2 separate regions of the Homo sapiens genome follow, and region 1 is linked to region 2. The links are contacts of gene promoters, found by promoter capture Hi-C in human tissues and cell types (Jung and others, 2019). All regions are on one chromosome and are shown on one strand. Each heading gives the region's core, a stretch centred on a gene start or on the middle of the fragment in contact. The rest is flanking DNA. Distances are from core to core; before and after follow the strand shown. Region 1 overlaps DGKE (diacylglycerol kinase epsilon). Region 2 holds the start of HSF5 (heat shock transcription factor 5).

Region 1 (6,200 bases), core at 317-2,816, 1.6 Mb after region 2:
ACTACAGAATATTCTTCCTCTAATGCCTAATAAAATGAATAAAAGATGTTACATGCCACAGTACATTTTTCAGATCGTTACTGATAAATCAGAAAGCTTTATGAAAATCCAGATGGAAGGAAACACACAGTTCTGCCATGCATATTAAGATGCATTCACTCTCCTGCCCTAATAATTATCATATAACCTTATGGTAGACGATAGTCAATTAGTTGCCAACCAATACTTAAAAATTAGATTTCATATACTCTAAACTTCTGTCTTTTCTAGAAAAATAAATTGTTTACACTAGGCCTGCTTCCCAGGAATCATGTGCTCCAGTTTACCGAAGTCTCTACAACTCTTACCTTCGTTGCTTGCCCAGCTCCTGTAAGCACTTGCAACCCGTAGGTGGGCATTAATTCCCATTCTTACAGAGAAAGAAAATTTGAGGCTCAGGAAGAACAAGTGTTAAGTTACAGTAGTAGAGGCTGGGTTTCCATTCAGGTATTTCAAATAAGTGATACATTTTTCCATACTCTACCAACTGAAAATAAGGTGAATTCACCTTTGATCCCACTTACTGCTCTACTCTGCCAGGAGCCAGTTTATATGCGTGAGAATGAATGTTTCTCCTAACACACGTGTATGATTCTGTGCTCTTAGGCTACAAAAGCCATGCAATATGAATTTTTTATTCTTTCTGTCTAAAAGTATGTGATCAGAACTTGCCACATATATGTTTGCCCTGCTGTAGACCAAGAACCACTTTTTGGGACACTAAGTCAAAGCTGCTTATTGTATCTCATGGTTGTGTCAAAAAACTACACAGTATCATACTTACGTGCTGCACTTTTAATTTTATTAAAAAAGAAGCAAGTATCTTCAACATACCAAATGCTTTCACATTTCTGCCTGCAGGCACTGACCACAAAAATACAGACCCAACACAACAAAAGCAATTAACACAAGATAATTAAGTGGTAGTTACAAGTGGTGGGCAGGGGAAAGTGCAAGAGGCCAGCTGGCTGAGCAAGTGGAGTCATCACATGTGTCCTCAACATTGTGGGTTTAGGGATCCAGTGCAATCAGTTCACTTCTAAGAGGACTGGGGTTGAGGACTCGAGCTAGGCTGCTCTAAACTTGTACAAACAGAATTACAAATCAGAGTGCCAATTTATCTGTAGGGTTTGTTTAAGCAGTTCAGATCTGAAAGACTGCTGGCAGAGCCCTGAACTGGACTGAGAACAAACGTTTTTATGAGCCATCATCATCCACCTCCACAAAGTGCCTGCCTTACTCTAGGGTTTTTCTCAGCCAAATCTACTCATCTGATCAGGATGCCCTCTTGCCTGGACAATGTCAGAGGAACAAGGAAAACAACTGAGCTTTCCAGCTCTTCCTTTTCAACATTCCATGTTAGTCACCAAAAAGTAACACATAATGGAAATTCTCTAGATTACAGCTTATTTCCTGTTTAGTGCATTCTGTGTTGATGTCGTCCTTTAACAGTGAGGTAGCTCAGGGCATCCTTAGAGAGACTGAAGTGTTCTTGGTCTGATATCTGATACCAGCAACACATTTCTTTCTTTTTTTTTTTTTTTGAGATGGAGTCTCACTCTTTGGCCCAGGCCCCACTGCAGTGGCACTATCTCGGCTCGCTGCAAGCTCCGCCTCCCTGCAAGCTCTGCCTCCCGGGTTCACGCCATTCTCCTGCCTCAGCCTCCCGAGTAGCTGGGACTACAGGTGCCCGCCACCATGCCCGGCTAAATTTTTGGATTTTTAGTAGAGGCGGGGTGTCACCGTGTTAGCCAGGATAGTCTCGATCTCCTGACCTCGTGATCCACCTGCCTCAGCCTCCCAAAGTGCTGGGATTACAGGCGTGAGCCACCACGCCCGGCCTTTTTTTTTTTGAGATGGAGTCTTGCTCTGTTGCCCAGGCTGGAGTGCAGTCATGTGATCTCCGCTCACTGCAAGCTCTGCCGCCTGGGTTCGAGCAATTCTCGTGCCTCAGCCTCCTGATTAGCTGGGATTAAAGGCATGTGCCAATGTACCTGGCTAATTTTTTTTGTATTTTTAGTAGAGACGGCGTTTCACCATGTTGACCAGGCTTGTCTCAAACTCCTGACCTCAGGTGATACGCCTCCCTTAGCCCCCCAAGTGCTGGGATTACAGGTGTGAGCCACCGTGCCCAGCCTCAGCAGCACATTTCTATTTATAGTTTCTAGGTGATTTATTTTCTGCAGACTTTCTTGCATATGGTTAAGCCCAATCATTTCATTTAAGTTTTATAAACGTCTGTATTAGAGGATGGCATTTTAAAATTCTTTCCCCAGAACCCTGGAATGTACCTTTCTGGGCTATGCAAGCCTCATGCACTGACTACACAGGGCCACATGGGTAAATATATATGTATTGATGTGTATTTACATATCAAAAATTAAATAGACTATATGCTTAAATTAGAAACACAAAGAACAAAGGCTAAGTTCACTGCTTTACTATTCAATAAAATAGCTTTAAAAACTGTGAAACAGCCAAGTGGCCACATTCTAAACAGCGACGGAGACCTCCAAAATATTCTGTCCACCAAAAAAACACGAAGTTTCTGAATATGTAAAAATTAGTAGAAAATCAATTAGGTGACAAAGTCATTATAGTAGTGGCTTTCAAACCCTTTATAAAAAATAGCAGAATCATTTTAAATGTGGAATTATTTTATCTACTGAGATCTGAAGCAGCACTCAGTATACACAAGTGTGGCTGCATTGACTGCAGTGAGAAGGCAGGCGCCTCCATGGCTCACTGCCCCTTGGAGGCGCACTGCACTAACTCCTGAAGCAACTCCTTGTCCCCCAACACTGCATGGGTCACAGTCCAAAAACTGATTCCACATATGAATCATACCAATTTTTATGTAACAGAGTTCAGACAAATATATCAATTTGGGTATGATACAAATAAGTTTTTCATAGAGTTCTTTTAGAAAAGTGATTTTGAGGGAAGAGGACAGCGGAGTAGAAGAAAAACAATTTTAAGAACATACAATTAATTCAATTTTTCGGCATGGTATCCCACCTAGCAAAAGCCCTAGGTGAATACATGAGGTTCAGACCAGAAGCTTTCAAATTTCAGTATGCTTAAGAATCGCCTGAGGCGCTTGTTAATAAAAACAGAGATTTCTATGTTGCATCTCCAGAGACAGGGAATCATTAAGTTAAGGGTTGGGCTCAGGAATCCATACTTTCAACAGCCTGCCCAGGCATTCTGATGCTGCAGATAGCCTGCAGCGCGTACTCTGAAGAACAAGAGAAAGGCTTCAAGGGAAAAATTGAAAAAGACAGGGGGACACTGTTTAAAAGCAAAACCCAAACCACCTTTTCTGTCTTGTTGCTGAGAATGAATTCAGATTGGGATAAACAACCTTTTCTTTCTTTTTAAATATCTAGATATTTTAAATATATCTACTTATATTCCACTGTCCTCAACTGGGTAGAAATATTAAAAAAATTATCAATATAAAATGCTGGTTCTTGCTTCAATATTATCATTTTGAAGGAAAACCACACAAAACCATTACCCATTCTAATGACTTTTTTGGCCAAATTATGTATTTGGGTCCACATTAATCATTAAATTAGTATAACCTTTAAAGTTTTCAAGTTAGTGCAAATTTAAAATTCAATAAATATATTAAATACAATTTTACTTTATATTACAAATGTAAATTATTTTTCTTTTGACATGCTGGTAGTATTCATTTTTACAACGCAAACTGACTTTACAATTTCTGAGTCACAGTATATTTTATAACTCTAAGCAAATGTATTTCACAAAGCAAACACTATATGTTTTTGACATACTCTAAAAAAATAAAAATAAATAATTTTGATTATAAAATTTGTATAAACTTAGCTACATTAGGGGTTCACAGCTAATTGTTGCAGAAAACCTAAAACACACCTAAATCATGTAACTTTACTAGCAGACAACTTGTATTTTAAAACACAAGTCAGTTTGATTTCTATTAAACATGACGAAACACTGAAAATTATCATCATCTGCCTAAGGGATCTTTAAGAGCTGCCAGGTATTCAGTATTTAAGCCACTACGTTTATAGGAATTAGGAATGTATTGGGATAGTAAAAAGATTAGAGAAATCTGGAAACAGACATGGAGATATGATTTACTTCATGTATTTCTTCCTGAGAATGTAGAAGTTATTTTTTTAAATATCAAGACAATTTAAAATGGAACAGGAAAATCTTATGGCAATTTTTTTTGGTAAAGTGTAGAATCCCTGGTAATATAAACAATCACTACCCTAATATGTAACTTGCAAACATGAAGTCTTATAAATTGTACTTAAACAAGGCACATGCCTATACACTTATTTGAAATGCTGGGTAAATGTGCCCAAAAAGTAAGTGAATTTTGCAAAAACAAGATAATGATACATTTTATGAGATGGTATTCTGAAATAGCTTCCCTAAATGAAGTCTAAATAAGTGAATAAGCCAGCAGAAAAACTTCATGACAGACCAGTAGTGATGCAAAAACCTTACTAGATTACAATAACCAAAAAATCAACTTATTTAGATAAATGAGGGCATTTTACATAAGCCTGTTCTAAATACAGTGTAATATTATGGTTGGTATTAAAATTATAATTTTTAATTGTAGTTTTCACAATTAAAAAGCTGTATTAGTTATTGTGATTATTTTCGTTCCAACATCCTAAATTGATTTGCTTCTACTACAATTAGCACTACGAATTATATAACAGGTAAACTATAACCTACAGCAAAGTGGATTTAACAGTGTATTTATAAAATGTGATGTCTTTAACAATTTTGATCATGAATGAAAGGATAAACTTCATAATACTCAGAACATGATTGGCCCATTAAAAAAAAAAAAAACAAAACTCTGCCATCCTCACTGCCATGGTTACTTACCATGAAAGGTATATAAAGAAGCTGAAAACAGATCTGCTCACAAAGTTTCTCAAGACTAGAATTTAAGATCACCTGAGGAGATCTGCAAGAGGTTAATTTAGCAAAATAGAGTATTTCATAAAATGTACTGACTACTGTATACATTACTAAGTTGCTCTTTGAAAACATGGTCTGGGCCTGAGGTGAGGCAAACTTAGGTTTATGGCAATTCATGGATGACAGATTCATAATAGACCCTCAAAGATAGCTAATGGTATTTTGGGGGATACATTCTGATCTTTCAGAGATTAATGTCATGAAAGACCACAAAGCCTGGGCCATGTGTCAGAAAAACACCAGGCTGGATGCCCTCTGGGTCAGCCGACCTGTGGGTCACGACCCTTGGGCTGGTCAACAGCAGCGAACAAGCACCCTCTAATGGGAACCATGAAACTAGCCCTTCAGTAAGTTTGTGGCAATTGAGGGGCAAATAAAACAATGAAACAAAGCTTTCAGTTATCCAAAAGTAGTTCCCTAGTGCTTTTCATGCCCTCCTTCATTTTTCAATACAATGAGGAATATTTGTGAAGAATAAGAATATCTAGATTTCTGTCAGGAGAATTAAATTAGAATTTTAATTAATAGACTAAATTTCTATCTGATTGTGACTAGCAGAATTTATGTGATCAATTTAACTTATTAAATAAAGCTACAGAACGTAAACACTAAACACAGGTACCATACCACAAGGTAAATAATAAATAATTTAAAAATATATCTCTCTCATTTTAAAATAAATATGATATAAACATTTTAGCAAAGATTTCTGTCCACTTACCTCCCTAAGGGGAAATTCTGTTAAAAGACTACTGTATTTCAAAATACTACAAGACCACCAAATTTTTAAAACTTATCAGTCAGCCTTGAGCTTTTTCTAAGCAATTAATCTCACCGTTGTCTCCTTTAAGCACGTTTTTTGAAGTGTTGACACTGTCTTTTAATAAAAAGAGCGGCTGATAAACAGTTCAGCTCAGAACCTATAACTTACAATCCCAAGTGCTCTGAATCTTATTTCTTACCAATTCACTTATCTGTTTCTCTTTTGGCTACACTGGTGTTATAAAAAAGATCCTGAATTGCAGCTCAAATGGTTACCTACAGAATTAAACAACATTTACGTGTCTGAATAAGTTCCTAAAATAAAAATTGTAATACAAATTTTAAGTATGATCTTTTTTTACTATTCTCCTTTTGGGGGTTCCTAGAAATCAATACATACACTT
Region 2 (6,339 bases), core at 3,172-5,671:
CATATGTGGTGGGTACTTACGTGAGCCAGTGAGTCATCATATTTTCCAGAGATGAATGACATGCTGTAGACTGAGCTGTCCCCCAGAGGAGTGTCAGCCTGGTAGGCAAATGGTAGCCAGTTATGAAGATAAGCCTTGTCTCTTTCTGCTGGGGTGCTTTCCTCATTGCAATGTTGCTCTTCCAGTCTGTCAACAAGGACCAGGAATTTTTCTTTGTGCCTTCTATTAGGTGACTCGCTGGGTTCCAGACCATATGGCATCACACTGCTATAACTGTGACTGTGAATTCTGGTTGGCCAAACGAAGACACCATTGCAGGTAAGATGTTTTGTATGATTTAGTATGACAAAAAACAGGGCAGGCCAGGCGCAGTGGCTCACACCTGTAATGCCAACACCTTGGGAGGCCGAGGCAGGCGGATCATGAGGTGAGGAGATTGAGACCATCCTGGCCAACATGGTAAAACCTGTCTCCACTAAAAATACAAAAATTAGCTGGGCGTGGTGGCGCATGCCTGTAATCCCAGCTACTCTGGAGGCTGAGGCAGGAGAATAGCTCGAACCAGGGAGCTGGAGGTTGCAGTGAGCCGAGATTACGCCACTGCACTCCATCCTGGCAACAGAGCAAGACTCTGTCTCAAAAAGGACAAAAAACAAAAACAAAAATAGTGTAATACATATGTATAGAACTAAGTGGAATTAGTTTGGAAGTGGACACCTCTTTATAGAAACTATTTTTGTTTGTCCCCAACTTTTCATTTAGTATCACTCATTCTCAGTATATTGGCATTTCTTAATATTAATTAATTAATTATTTTTTTATTAGCGATGGGCTCTTGCTATGTTGCTCAGGCAAGTCTCAAACTCCTGGCCTCAAGCGATTCTACTGCCTCAGCCTACCAAAGTGCAGGGATTACTGGTGTGAGTCACCCTGCCTGGCCAGTATATTGGCATTTCTGATGAACTCTTCCCTCTTTCTGCTTTGACAGAAATTGTGGGAATGTATTTTGTGCTGGATGCTGCCACCTGAAGCTGCCCATTCCTGATCAGCAACTCTATGACCCAGTTCTCGTCTGTAACTCATGTTACGAACACATTCAAGTCTCTCGTGCCAGGGAACTCATGAGCCAACAGCTGAAGAAACCCATTGCTACAGCTTCCAGTTGAATGCCGGGGAGAAACCTGTCCAATTTTAGCAGGTTTGAAGGGAGGATCTTCTTCAGTTGTAGTTTGGAAGGTTCCTTGGTGTGGCTCATGAAATCACAGAGCTCAGAGATACCATCTTGAGAAATCCTCCTTGGTATCATGAAACTGGAGCAGAGGAATTGCAATTTAGCAGGAGGTCCTCTACTGGTGATACCCTCACCTTGGGGTAATGGTCCTAACCCAGACCCAGGGTCTGGAAGCTTAATGTTGAGTTGGTGACTCCAGCCTCTTTCTCCTGGAGGTCACAAGATGATGATTGCGTAGATGTTGCCTGGTGCAAAGTGCCCCAAACAGCAATAGAAAGGCATATGTATAACCAAACTCCAAGTGATAACCAGACCCATCTCTCCTCCACCTTGACAAAAGCAGATTATAGTATACAAGGTAGGAATTCCTGTCCTATTTGAGATGAACTATATCCTGTACCTCTGTGCTCTGTGTCTGCATGAAGGCTCAGCCTTTAGAGGCACTCCTTCTAGTTGCATTAGTACTGTCTTTCTGTGGAGTTTGGTTTGAAGACTGGCTCAGCAAGTGGAGGTTTCAATGTATTTTTCAGTTGGCTCATCAGCCAGCATTGGTGAATATTCAGTTTAGGGGAACAGTTCTAGGGAGTGAGACATTTTTGGGAGCAGAGGAAAACTCTGCTGATGTTCGGTCCTGGCAAACATTGAGTTATTTTGAGCTGTGAAGGCAGTCGTCTCTGTTACACAGTGGCAGCTCTTGAGTTATGCACTGTGAAGAATGAGAAGGGAAAAGCAAAAATTATCCTTGTGAAATATCTGCTGATTGTGCCCTACTCTTTGCACCTGACTTTTCCTAGTTGTCCTGGTGCTAACACAGGAGCTACACCTTGATCCTCTCCTGGCATGAAAATAAAACAAAGGTTTTCGTTGTTGTTGTTCCATTGCCCATTTCCCCCATGTTGTCTTTCCCTTGGCTGATGCCTCCTCTGGGTCACATTGCTTCTTATCCTGAACACTTGACACCTTGAGGGTAGAATTTAGCGTTTGGTTTTTACCTCCTAGCATATGCTGTTTGGTATGTGAGGGTTTCAGTACAAATGCTGCTGTCTATTTCTGTGCACTTAACAATGGAACCCAAACAGAAGAGAATAAAGCCTTGATACCAAAATTGGGAAAGAACATGTGTCCATTTGGACCAAACGTTGTTGGTTTTTAAAAAATTTTATTTTGTTTTTTTGTTTTTGTTTTTGTTTTTTTTCATCTTAATATGTACCAGTGGCACTTAACCAAAAGATACAGTGATATAGCCATGTACTGTGGGTGGGACAGATACAGTCTCCTTGGCCTATAATGAAACCACTAGGACTTTATACAGTTTTCCTTAATTTGTTGACATATAAATGGTAAATTATATTTAGGCTTATCCTGTTTTGAAATGATGGTAGTCATCTTTCTTACTGCTACTTTCATGTTGCTTTCTAGAAAACAGCATTTCATTCCAAAATAACTAGGATCTGCATTTAGAACAAGAATCATTATTTGTCCTGACCTTTTCAGTCCTACAGAGACGCATCTGTGGTTCTTTTGTACTTGCCATAGATGTAACCTAAAAAGTTTTGGCATATTTAGGTCAGCCTAGCGGAACTTTTTTTTTCATTTAAATGGAGCTGAATAATGGAGATTTTGTGTCTGCAAAATTCCTGAGATCATTGAAAAAGTAACAAGCTGTTCCTTGTTTCTGATACATAAAATTATTTTAAGCATTTTATCAATCATTAAAATTTACTGCCAGTTGTGAGTGGCTTTTTAATTAACTTGTCTTTCATTGCACTTCACTCTGCCTGTTTTCAAGGGGAGTAAGATTGGTAACATTTGGGGAGACTGTATCTGTCTACTTAGCGTGGCTGTTTTGAGGGACTGTCCCATCAGTGAACAAACTGCATGGCCTTGGAGAGAGACTCTGGGCTCTTGGCTCAGATGTGTTCATCAAATACTCCTTTCAGAGCTGTTGTGGGTGTAAGTGACATGATGTGGCCAAAAATCCAAACTGTGCAGTTGCGTTGTGACAAACATGCAATGTGCTGTAAAAATTCAATACAGTTTAAATAAAATCTCTATATTAGTGCTGCTTTGTTGGGTCGTTTTATTTTCATTTCTAAAAAAACTTAATATTCACTTATTCTTTGACCATGAGAAGAGTAGAACATTGTACCCCTTTCTCCCAGCAATTTCCAATTTATTTATTTTGAGATGGAGTCTCCCTCTGTTCCCCAGGCTGGAGTGCAGTGGTGCGATCTCGGCTCACTGCAACCTCCGCCTTCTGGGTTCAAGCGATTCTCCTGCCTCAGCCTCCTGAACAGTTGGGACTACAGGTATGCTACCACGCTGGCTAATTTTTGTATTTTTAGTAGAGACAGGGTTTGACCATGTTGGCCAGGCTGGTCTCGAACTCCTGGGTTCAAGCAGTCCACCCAGCTCGGCCTCCCGAAGTGTTAGGATTACAGACATGAGCCACTGCGCCCGGCCAATTTCCGTTTTCAAATGAACCTCTCTTTTTGAATCAGCACAGCTCTTGTTACATTCTTATTTATTGATTGGCTAGGGATCGATTCTTATGGATACCGTAGAATTCTGTCCCATCTTTATTTCTCTTTAATGTCTAAAATGCCACCAGCTAGTTGGGCAGGCACACAAGATAGTACTTAGATTCTTGTGATTCCCTCCTCCTAGGGACCTCAGTTTTCATCTAACCTTGAGTAAATTGTCTTGAACAAATACTGACTTAAAAGAGTGTATCTTAAAAGATACAAAGGGCTACTATCTAAAAGGTGAGTTCGTTTACTCAAGATATTATACCTCCAGTAGCATCATTTTTGTTTGAGAGGTAAGCAGTTCCACTGTTAGCAAAGATTACAGACCAGACCCTTTGGTCCCCAGAACGACCAACTCTGCTGCCTAACGCACACTTTCTCTGCATTCCAAGTCTCCACTAGTTGGCTGGGCCGAAACACACGCCTCTTGGTATTCCACGGTGGATAACTGGGCTTCTCTCTTGTCAGGACTTAGAACACCCCGGCAGACAGCCTTCCCGGCCTGAAGTCTGGGAACGCCTGGGGAAGGGGCTCCTGCCCGGGTCCCGCAGGCGTCCGGCGGGCCGAGCTGGGGCACGCGGCCGCCGAGGGGGAGGTGCCCACGCCGCGTGGCGGGAACTCGAGGCCCCATTGGCCGCGCTGGGAGGCGCCGCGGGGCCTCGTGCGCCAACGGTCCCTGGTACGCGGCGGATGGGCGCCGGCAGGAGCGGGCAGGGCGAGGCGAAGGCCGGGGAGGGATCGAGAACGGTGTGGGAGAGCTAGGCTCGGGGGGCGAGGCCCCGGCCCGGCGGGGCGATGGAGGCGCTGCTCTCCACCCCCATCAACCCCAACAACTTCCCCGCCAAGCTGTGGCGCCTGGTGAACAGCCCGCGCTACCGCTCCATCCGCTGGGACGGCCGCGGCGAGGGGCTGCTTATCGATCAGCCGCTCTTCGAGGCCGAGCTGCTCAGCCCGCCCGGGCCGGGGGGCGGTGGCGGGACTGCGGGGGCCGGGGCCGAGCCCGAGCTCTTCAAAACCACCAGCTTCACCAGCTTCATCCGCCAGCTCAACCTCTACGGCTTCCGCAAGGTGGTGCTGGGCGGGCCGGGGGGCGGCAAACCGGCAGGCAATGGGCCGCTCCATCACTTCCACAACCCGCACTTCCGCCGCGACCAGCCACAGCTGCTCGTGCACCTCAAGCGCCTCACCAGCGCCAACAAGGCCAAGCTGGCGGCCGGCCTGGAGGTGCCCTGCCGCCCGCCCAACCGCTTCCAGCGGCTGCTCATCACCTCGGCCTCCGCCGCCACCGCGCCACTGCAGCACCAGCAGCCGCCGCCGCCCGCGGGGCCCCGGCCCGAGCCGCACGGTGAGTCCGGACTGCCCGTGCCCTCGCCCACAGTGGGCACATGGGCGGCGGGGAGCAACCGCCGCTGGAGGGCGCATTTTCGCACGTCCTCACGCTATGGGCGTCGGAAAGGCGCCGGGGACCCATTGGCCGCTGTGCTTCCCGAGACTGGCGGTCCCGCCACCGCCGCCGTTCTCAGCGGCACCAGCACGGTGGCCACCGGCCCTCCCCTGGAGGGTCCGTAAGCATTCGGCCCCTTCTGAGCCCACTGGCAGCAAAAGGGACCTCCGCCTCTTAGGCTCCCTTCTACTCGTCCCCGGTTTGAACCCCAGGAGTTTACCTGGTTGTAAGCCTCCGTTTACCTTCCTGAGACCCACACTGTCCACTGTAAACATGTGGACTCAGTAGTCCTTCGTTGAAACATTGGGTCTGGAAGAAACAAAAGGGGCTCCTTTGCTCCCGTGGGAAGCAGAGTGGAGTCACCCTACGGGTTAAGGCGGGATGGAACAAAATCGTAGTCAAGAGAATTTAGAACATTACGGTTGGGCGTGGTGGCTCACGCCTGTAATCCCAGCACTTTGGGAGGCCGAGGCGGGTGCATCACGAGGTTAGGAGTTTGAGACCGGCCTAACCAACAGGGTGAAACCTCGTCTCTACTAAAAATACAAAAATTAGCCAGGCATGGTGGTGCACGCCTGTAATCCCAGCTACTTAGGAGACTGAGGCAGGAGAATCGCTTGAACCCAGGAGGCAGAGGTTGCAGTAAGCCGAGATAGTGCCACTGCACTCCAGTCTGAGCAACAGAGCGAGACTCGGTCTCAAAAAAAAAAAAAAAAAAAAAAAGAGAGAACTTAGAACATTACAATAGCAGGCAAGGGAAAGTTTTGGAAAAGGTGCCTGCAGTGGAAATTTGTCCTTGAAGAGGGCTGCCACCTTCCACCTATTGGCACATCTAAGAAATCTTAGAAGTGCTACGACAATCATCAGATTTAAGGTTCTGGTTAATGTGTAGAATGGTAGACGTTGTTTATATACCTTAAGAGCAAAAATACAACGATACATCGTGGCTTACAAGATATAGTTCCTATGTAGAATGAATTGGCTACACATTTCTTTCATTGAAGCAAATTAGAGCTTGATGCTTCCTTAAAGGGGTATGATTAGACAAACATAAGGCAAAGATGGTTTTCTTTACAGCTGTCAAGTTTTAGTTAAAAAAGAATTTTAGAAAGCTCACATTTACAGCCTTTGGAGTT

The links. Contacts are between HindIII fragments. The study calls those that stand out against the background at their distance.
Region 1: a contact is called between a fragment that was not itself captured here and the fragment with the promoter of HSF5 in region 2, in 1 of the 25 tissues and cell types used here (spleen).

Annotation. Positions count from the first base shown.
Region 1 is chr17:56,863,295-56,869,494 of GRCh38, reverse strand. It overlaps DGKE (diacylglycerol kinase epsilon), which reads right to left. Exons shown (of 12, transcript NM_003647.3): 12 at 1-6,200. All of the region lies in intron 1 of LOC124904037 (a long non-coding RNA gene), which reads left to right. Among named protein-coding and RNA genes, the nearest start is that of MIR3614, 25 kb to the left of the region's middle. The HindIII fragment of the contact is 5,394 bases long and covers 1-4,263 here.
Region 2 is chr17:58,486,490-58,492,828 of GRCh38, reverse strand. HSF5 (heat shock transcription factor 5) reads left to right here and starts at 4,421. Exons shown (of 6, transcript NM_001080439.3): 1 at 4,421-5,104. The coding sequence starts at 4,555. MTMR4 (myotubularin related protein 4) reads left to right here. Exons shown (of 18, transcript NM_001378067.1): 17 at 230-318; 18 at 989-3,292. The coding sequence ends at 1,166. RefSeq lists silencers at 4,710-4,759, 5,020-5,139. The HindIII fragment of the contact is 20,222 bases long and covers 1-6,339 here.